2 separate regions of the Homo sapiens genome follow, and region 2 is linked to region 1. The links are contacts of gene promoters, found by promoter capture Hi-C in blood cells and fetal thymus (Javierre and others, 2016). All regions are on one chromosome and are shown on one strand. The core of a region is centred on a gene start or on the middle of the fragment in contact, and the rest is flanking DNA. Distances in the headings are between cores, read along the strand shown. Region 1 holds the start of KLK9 (kallikrein related peptidase 9). Region 2 overlaps SIGLECL1 (SIGLEC family like 1).

Region 1 (4,391 bases), core at 252-2,751:
CCACTGTACTTCAGCCTGGGTGTCAGAGCAATACTCCGTTTTGGAAAACAAACAAACAAACAAACAAACAAAAAACAGATGGAGCAACTGAGAGAGGTCTTGTGACTTGCCCAAAGTCACACACCTCATCACTAATCACACCTAATCATTGAGATTTGGACACACATGGTTCAGTTCCAGAGTCCATGCTCCAAACCATGACGACACAGTGAGAGAACATTCAAGGGGAGCCCAGACCCAGCTTCATAACCAGGCCTGTGAGCAGGAGAAAGTGGAAGGGATCGTAAGTGCCCAGGGGAGGCAAAGATGGACTCTGCCTGAGGATCTCAGAGATTTCCTGGAGGAGGGAGAATTGAGGTTGGGTGTTGAAGGATGAGTGGGAGTTCACCAGGAAAAGAAGGATATGGAGAAAGACATTCACTCATTCAATGAACATCTCCTGAGGACTTCTGCAAGCCCTGTTCCGCCTGGAACGGGGTGATGCTGGGACACAGAGATGAGTCAGACCTGGGCCCAGCCCTCCAGAAGCTGTCCACCTGGTGAGAAGGAATGATGAGGAGAGAGGCAGGGAGGATGGGGTGATGGAAGGGACAATGGGGTGGGGGGCAGGGAGATGGATGAAAAAAATATATAGCAAATGTTCTCAGGATTTGGCAAAGATCAGGATGTATTAAGAGAGAGCACAGGGCACTTGCTACCTGGAAGGTTGGGCACCTGGGTCCTTGGGTGGTGGAGCCGTGGGGAAGGGGGCAGGTTATGACAAGAGTGGGTTAATCCAGATGGAACCAGATTTCTCAACATTCTAGGAGAGGGCCTTGTCCTTGTGGGAAGAGGCCCAAATCCCCAGGGCAGGGAAGGTTCTGCAAGGTGTGTAAACCTGTGCAGCTGCCTGTGGTCTCTGCCTCACTCCACCTGGATTTCCCTCAATCTTTCCCGTGTTCTGTCTCCTCCTCCCACTCCTCCTCTCATCTTGGGTCCTTCTGTGCCTGTACCTCCCTCTCTTTGTATCTTTTGCTCTTGTGTCTGAGTCCTGACTCTGTCTTCCACCCCTCGCCTCCTTTCTGGGTGGTCCCCCTGCACATCCCTCCAGCCTGCCGTGGGAGGTTGGTCTCTGCACACCACTGCTTTATCCAAAATAAACCTGCTGCACCCCAGGACCTTAGGCTTCAAGGATCTCCCTCCTTTTCCAGGACACAAAAGATTCTGTATCTTGTAGCCTAAGGTGATGAGGAATGAGGTCTCCCACTCTGAAGACCCCAGAGGAGGTGCCCACAACCTCTCCACACCCCCAGCACTCCTCCTCCATTCAGTCAAGCTCTGGCCCAGCAAGCCGCCAGTTCATCCCAAAAGGGGGGTCCCCCTGCACTTACCTCCTCTCCCAAGGCCCCTGTCACAGCCCCAGGGCTTCCCCCTCCCCCAGGTACATTTCCCAACCCCGATTAATCACAGGGGCGGCCCCATGGAGGAGGAAGGAGATGGCATGGCTTACCATAAAGAAGCACTGGACGCCGGGTGCACGTTCCAGGATCCAGGTGCCCAGGGGTCATGAAGCTGGGACTCCTCTGTGCTCTGCTCTCTCTGCTGGCAGGTGAGGCTCCCAGGCTGGCTGCCCCTTCACGGCTGTACTAAGGTCACCTTGCTCTTCCCTCCCATCCCAGGCTTCTGCCTCCTGCCCTCTAGGCTTCTCAGCATCCTCTCCCTGCCCTCCCAGCCTGCTCTTCGCTGACCCCTTTGTCCCTCATCCCCACCCCAGGGCATGGCTGGGCAGACACCCGTGCCATCGGGGCCGAGGAATGTCGCCCCAACTCCCAGCCTTGGCAGGCCGGCCTCTTCCACCTTACTCGGCTCTTCTGTGGGGCGACCCTCATCAGTGACCGCTGGCTGCTCACAGCTGCCCACTGCCGCAAGCCGTGAGTGACCCAGGCTGGCCATGCTGGGGAGGGACAGAGGCTGGGGGTCAGGAGAGGGTGAGGGGTGCTTTAGGCCAGAAGTGCGGAGCCTCCACTTCTGATACCACAAGTTCAACTCTTAGAAGTAGGAAGGGTAGCCTCCCAAATCCTAAAATTCTAGAGACCAGCAATATCTCATTTGAGAAGTCTAAGATTCGAAACTTAGGCTCTTCGAATCCGAGACTGACCCAGAGAAATCCAGAATCGTAGAATCCTAAAATCTTGAATTTATGAAATTCTGCAATAGCCTCAGCAAATTTTAGAATCATAGATTCGCAGACTATTAGAATCTTAGCAGTCTGGGTCAGCACTGCCCAGAGGAATTATGATGCCAGCCACATGTGTAAGTTTAAATTTCTGGTGGACACATTTAAAAAATAAGGAATGAGTAAAATTAATTCTAATAGATTTAACTTGACATACCCAAAAACTTATTTTGACATGTAATCAATTTTTAAATACGTATGAACGATACAGTTTACTTTTGTTTTGGTACTAAGCCTTTGAAATCTGTTCTGTATTTTACACACATAGCCTGTTACAAAATGGACTAGCCACATTTCAAGTGTTCAATAGCCATAATGGCTAGTGTGATCCTAGAATCTTAAATTCAGAGCTTTCTAGATTCATTGAATATTGAAACTCACAGTACTAGAATCTTTGATTCACAGTATCCTAGAATATTGAGATTCAGATAATTCTGTAGTCTTAAACTATTTGAATCCCAGACTCTTAAATTTCTAAGGTTATAGATTTATAGAATGATGACATTCTAGTCTTTCTTTTTTTTTTTTTTTTTTTTTTTTGAGACAGAGTCTCCCTCTATCTCCCAGGCTGGAGTGCAGTGGCACAATCTCAGCTCACTGCAACCTCTGCCTCTCGGGTTCAAGCAATTCTCCTGCCTCAGCCTCCTGAGTAGCTGGGATTACAGGTATGCACCACCATGCCAGGCTATTTTTTTTTTTTTTTTTTTTTTAGTAGAGACGGGGGTTTCACCATATTGGCCAGGCTGGTCTTGAACTCCTGACCTTGTGATCTGCCCGCCTCGGCCTCCCAAAGTGCTGGGATTACAGGCGTGAGCCACCGCGCCCAGCCAAAATTCTAGTCTTTTTGTCCTAGAACATTAAAATTCTATGTTCAAATCTTAGATTTAATTCAGATAATGTTAGAATCCTGGAGTTTTTTTGATCCAGGGGAATCTGGAATGTTAGAATCTTGGATTCATAAAACTCTAAACCTTGAGCCTCTAGATTCTAGAATCATGGATAATAGTGTGTCGGAATCTGAGAATTCTAGAATCTTAGGTTCTGGGCATTCTAATAGTATCCTGGAATCCACCTGATGCAGGAATCCTCTCTCCATTGCCTCTGAAAAGTGACCATCCATACTGTTCCAATTTTCTTCCCTCCATGAGTAAAGCACTGATTGTGGTAAGAGATGCTGTGTGGGAATTTCCCATCATGCATTGCTCCATGATGGAACCTCCTTTAACTTAAGCCTATACATCAGACTGGGAGAACGATGTTCAGATTTCAGCCGAAAGTGAAGCAGGAGAAATGCAGAGATATGAAGGTGGAAGAGAGTGAGAGGCAGGGGAAGGGTAGGGGGATGAAGGGATGTAGGGGTGAGGACTACTTTTCCAGATCCAGAGCCAAGACAGCAAGAATGACAGAGAGAGACAGACACAGATGTTTCTGGTTCCCCAACCCTGAATTCGCAGTCATTAGCCTGCTGCCTAATGTCAGAGGTCAGAGGCTGGGGAATGGACTTGTCATCCCCGAAAGGATCCCAGCTGTCTAGGGCATGGACCAGAAATGAAACAAGTGCGCTGAGACTGTGGTGAGGGCTTAAGGTTAGACACCAGGAAGACATGCATTGAAGGGTGAAGGATATGATAGACAGGAAAAGCTGAGGCCAGAGATGACCCCCAATTTGGGGATTTTCCATATCCCATCCCCTTTCATACACACGCACACGTATACACACACACCACTTAGACATACAGAGCCGCTCCCACAGAAGCCACCAGACCTGTGGGGGCAGGGGTGGGGCGGTTGTTATGTGGTAGGTGGGGTCCCCCGTGCCCACACCGTTCCTAGGGACCCAAGTCACCACCAAGGCTCCAGGTGAGTAGGGAGGAAGGTGGCTCACTCAGCCTGGGACTAGGAGCGGGGGCTTTGTGGGGAGAGCTACAAAGATGGAGACACACAAAACATCAGAGTGGGGACCAGGGACCCAGAGGAGGTGTGTGCCTCGCTTAAAATCACAGTACCCTGGGCCAGACATAGATGATGAGGGTGCAGAGAGGGTGTGTGGCTTGCAGAGGGTCACACAGCACCCTGATGGACAGGAAAAGAGGGCTGGGGCTGAAAGGACTTTTACCTTTCCCCCAGCTTGACCTCTGAGGCCTGTCCCAGCAGGTATCTGTGGGTCCGCCTTGGA
Region 2 (4,299 bases), core at 1,556-4,055, 250 kb before region 1:
CTTTGGGAGGCCGAGACGGGCGGATCACGAGGTCAGGAGATCCAGACCATCCTGGCTAACACGGTGAAACCCCGTCTCTACTAAAAATACAAAAAATTAGCTGGGTGTGGTGGCGGGCCCCTGTAATCCCAGCTACTCAGGAGGCCGAGGCAGGAGAATGGCATGAACCTGGGAGGCAGAGCTTGCAGTGAGCCGAGATCATGCCACTGCACTCCAGCCTGGGCGACAGAGCAAGACTCCGTCTCAAAAAAAGAAAAAAAGAAAAAACCAAAGAATGAAAACATACACCAAGCAAATACCAACCAGAAAGCCAGGTAATGTAGACATACCTACATTAACATCCCATAAAGCAGACTTTAAGCAAAAGGCATTACCAAAGATAGAATGGCATATCTCCTAATGATAAGCTGACATTAACAGGAATAAAGTATATATTTAAAATTTGTGTTTGCCTACTAACATAGTCCAAAAATATATAAAGCAAAAAATCTACAAAAATAAAAGGAGAAACAGACATCCACAATAGTAGTGTGACATTTTAATCACTGTTCTCTCAGAAACTGACAGAACAAACAGACTATTGGAATATATAAAGATTTCAACAACTTGATCAGCAAATTTGACCAAAAATATATAGAGAATACTGCAATCAATAACTGCAGAATACAATTTCTTTGTAAGCACACAGAGAACGTTTACAGAAATTGGCCACAGCTGGATCATAAGACAAATCTTAATAAAATTTCCATGAAAATATTTAAAATCTCATTAATAACCAGCAAAATGCCTGTTAAAACCATCAGATACCAGTACATATCCAAGACAATATATCAAGTCTTGGTGAGAATGTGGTACTCAACTTTCACACACTATTGGTGGAAATATAAATCAGGGCAACAAAGTTATTTATCAAAGCAGAAGATACACATACTCTATGACCCTCAATTCCACTCCCAGATGTATACTTTATAGAAATGTTTGTGCATATGTACGCCACAAAGGAATGCAAAAATGTTTACAGTGGTATTATTTAAAAATAGCTAAAAAGGTAAACAATCCAAATGCCAGTAAACAGAGAATTTTAAAAAATGAGATACTACACAGCAACAAAAACCTATGAGCTAATGCTAGATGCAACAACATGGACCATTCTTACAAATAAAATATTGAATGAACAAAGCCAGACACAAATAAGTAATAATGTATGAGCATTTCTTTAAAATTTGAAAAAAACCGGGCAAAATCAAGTGTTTAAGAACGCACACACAAGTAGTAAAAATCCTTTAAAAGTTGCCAAGAAATGTCCAGCATAAAAGGTAGGATATTAATTGCCTTTTTGGGAGGAAGAGGTCTGTTTCTCTGTTTATTTTATCATTTGTAGGGGGTATGAACAGGTCTTTTGAGATACTGGCTATAGTGAATTCCATAAGGCTGTACCCTATATAGGCATCCTTTTAATAGTACAGTTTCCCATTGCCCATCTGCCTGACCATATGGCCAGGCCATTGGCCACTGCCCATGAATTGGTAAAAACCCAAATGTGGAGGCAGTTCAGCCCACTGAAGTGACTTGTTTTTGCCTTCCTCAGTATGAGTGCCAGTCTTCCAAACAGGATGTTATTAATTCACTTTGGAATTGCCATCCATAAATCAAACCGCTCTTAGTTGGTCAATCAAGAGCTATTAATAGACATCATTCAAGTAATAATAGGATCTCGCAGCTCTTCAGTAGGGAAAAAGCCACCTGTTCATAAATATAACGAGGACCTCCTTGCATTTCCCTGGTAGCATGTTCCTGTATAAACAATTTCCATTTTATTACGAGACTCTTTTGGGCATGGCCTTCCTTACTACAGTGTTTTTCCAACATGACAAACACATCATGAGGATTTCAGGTGTCAGGATTATTATATCCTTCAATGATGGGGCAGACTCAAAGCCCAATAGGCAGCTAGTTGTCTCTCCATTGGAAATTTTCTGGCCCCAAATCCCAGCATTCACCACTGGGTGGTGCTCACTGGCCTTAGCTCCAGTCTGCCTAAATAAAGCAAACGTTAAGCTTCTAACATGTTTTGTCCACCAGATATCCTGTACTGTTTCAAATTAACAATTAGTGTGGGCTTGGGCAATCTTATTGGTTCCTATTTAGCATATTCAATCAATATTGGTTGAAGGGAAGATTTACATGCCTTCTGTTTCATAATAGTACGTAGGGGAACTCTTCCATAGTTGGACACAATATCTTTCCTCATAATACATTTAGGTAAATACATTCACATAACATATTTACATAGTCTGTCCAAACATTCCAATTTTCATCCAAAGTTTCGCCTGAATCTCATCCACTTTGTAATCCTATGTCTTCGCAATCTAACCATAGATGCTATTAGAATTTCACCAACCTTTTGGAATGCAGGTATAAGACTCCCACATGAGTCCCAGAAATATCTCTTATCCATCCCCTGACTATTTTACTACTAATATGCATATGACTTTGGGTCTTCAGTTAGGGGTCAGGCCAAGCAACCCAGGCCCTTTTGTCATTTATCTTGATTAGATCACATGTTCGTCCCCTCAGGAGATCTGAGGTCAGATTTCCCATTGTCATGTTTGCCTTCTGGCTTCTAAAATTCCTCCAAACTAGGGTAAATATAGCAGACTTGATGGGGGACCTTCAACACTGGAGGGCAAGTCTAGGTTCTCACTGCTCCACCTAATTTCTAAGAGTGCTCCACTGAGACCTTTGTTTAGACTCCCTCAATGTCCACTTAACTCATCTCATTTCTTAATAACTGTTTATAAAGATTTCCACCCTCTTGGAAATGTTCGTCTTTTCTCACTCTCTGGTGAACCACTCTAATTTTCTTTGCCATCTGTCATTTCAGCCTAACTTTTCCCTTTAGCCACAGCCCTGAGGCTAGCAGCTGTAGCTCAGGCTGGCCAGAGCCCAAGATTGGGCCAGCATCAGGATCCGCCTCAGCCACTTTCATTTTAACGATTACAGATAAAAATAGCCAAGGGACTGCCTATTTAGTTTGTTTCCTTATGCATCCAGTGGGTCAGCTCCTTGGGGGTTGGATCCATTGTATTGAAAAAGCAATGGTAACTTTTACCTCCTGTAACTGTTTGCAGAACAGCTGCATTTCTATACGCACAGGTGACCGCAGGACAGCCCAGGAATCAAAGGCTTATCATCTTGACTTCACATCCTTCCTCTTTTCAAACCATATGTTTCAGTGAGTCAGGGCTGTTCTAGTGAATCCCATTTCTGATACAACTGAAAAGTTAGGGAATGGTCCACAAGATCCCCTCATTTCTGACACCAACTGAAGATATCAAGGATCCCTGATTACCCTCATTTCTCAAATCATTTGCAAGGTTTTGGAACCCCAAAACTACCCTTAGGTTTGGTAATTCACTAGAAGTACTCACAGAATTCACTGAAAGCTGTTATACTCGTGATTACTGTTTACTACAACTAAAGGATAGAGATTAAAATCAGCCAAGGGAAGACATACAGGGCAGAGGCCAGAAGTTCCCCACACAAAGCTTCTAGTTATCCTCTCCCTGTGGAGTCATGGACAGCATAACTTAGCTTTCCTGGTGATAATGTGTGACAATATGCATAGTACTGTCAACTAAAGAAGCTCACCCAAGCCTTGTGTCCAGTGTTTTTATTGGGCCTCCATCGTGTAACATGGTGACTTCCCTCATGGTGGATCTTAGCATCCAGCTCCTCCTGAAGTTGAGCTGATACCATTTGATCCAAAGCCCCTATTCTAAATCACATTGTTAGACTATCTGGTATTGCTTCCACTCTAAATCACATTGTTAACATTATCTGGTGTGGCCAGCCCTCATCCTAAATCACATTTCTAGAATATTCAGTGTGATGCAAGGTCCCTGGGCAAACAAAGACACCCCTATGAGGTGTGACATTCTAAGAGCTAGGGAGTGTCTTCCAGAAGCCAAGGGCAAAGGCCAGACTTCTCTTCAGGCAAGGTTAAGTTCCTTAGTACACAGAATAAAATGTCAAATTCAGAATAGCAGCGATCTCTATGTTTGAGAGTGGGAGATGTGTTTGGGGAAGGGAGTATACCAGGGGTAGTGTTTTCTTTCTTTTCTTTTCTTTTTTTTTTTTTTGAGACAGTTTCTTGCTCTGTCACCCAGACTGGATGGAGTGCAACGGAGCATTCACAGTTCACTGCAGGCTTGACCTCCCAGGCTCAAGCAATCTTCCCACCTCAGCCTCCCAAGTAGCTGGGACTACAAGCATGTGCCACCATGCCTGACTAATTTT

What was found. Contacts are between HindIII fragments. The CHiCAGO score rates a contact against its expected background, and 5 or more counts as called.
Region 2: a contact is called between a fragment that was not itself captured here and the fragment with the promoter of KLK9 in region 1, in 1 of 17 cell types (naive CD4 T cells). The highest score is 5.5, in naive CD4 T cells.

What each region holds. Positions count from the first base shown.
Region 1 is chr19:51,006,702-51,011,092 of GRCh38, reverse strand. It overlaps KLK9 (kallikrein related peptidase 9), which reads left to right and starts at 1,501. Exons shown (of 5, transcript NM_012315.2): 1 at 1,501-1,588; 2 at 1,754-1,910; 3 at 4,370-4,391. The coding sequence starts at 1,546. RefSeq lists enhancers at 1,118-1,618, 4,015-4,391. The HindIII fragment of the contact is 11,592 bases long and covers 1-4,391 here.
Region 2 is chr19:51,257,253-51,261,551 of GRCh38, reverse strand. The region is part of intron 1 of SIGLECL1 (SIGLEC family like 1); the gene reads right to left. All of the region lies in intron 2 of LOC107985327 (a long non-coding RNA gene), which reads left to right. Among named protein-coding and RNA genes, the nearest start is that of SIGLECL1, 8.3 kb to the right of the region's middle. The HindIII fragment of the contact is 1,490 bases long and covers 2,061-3,550 here.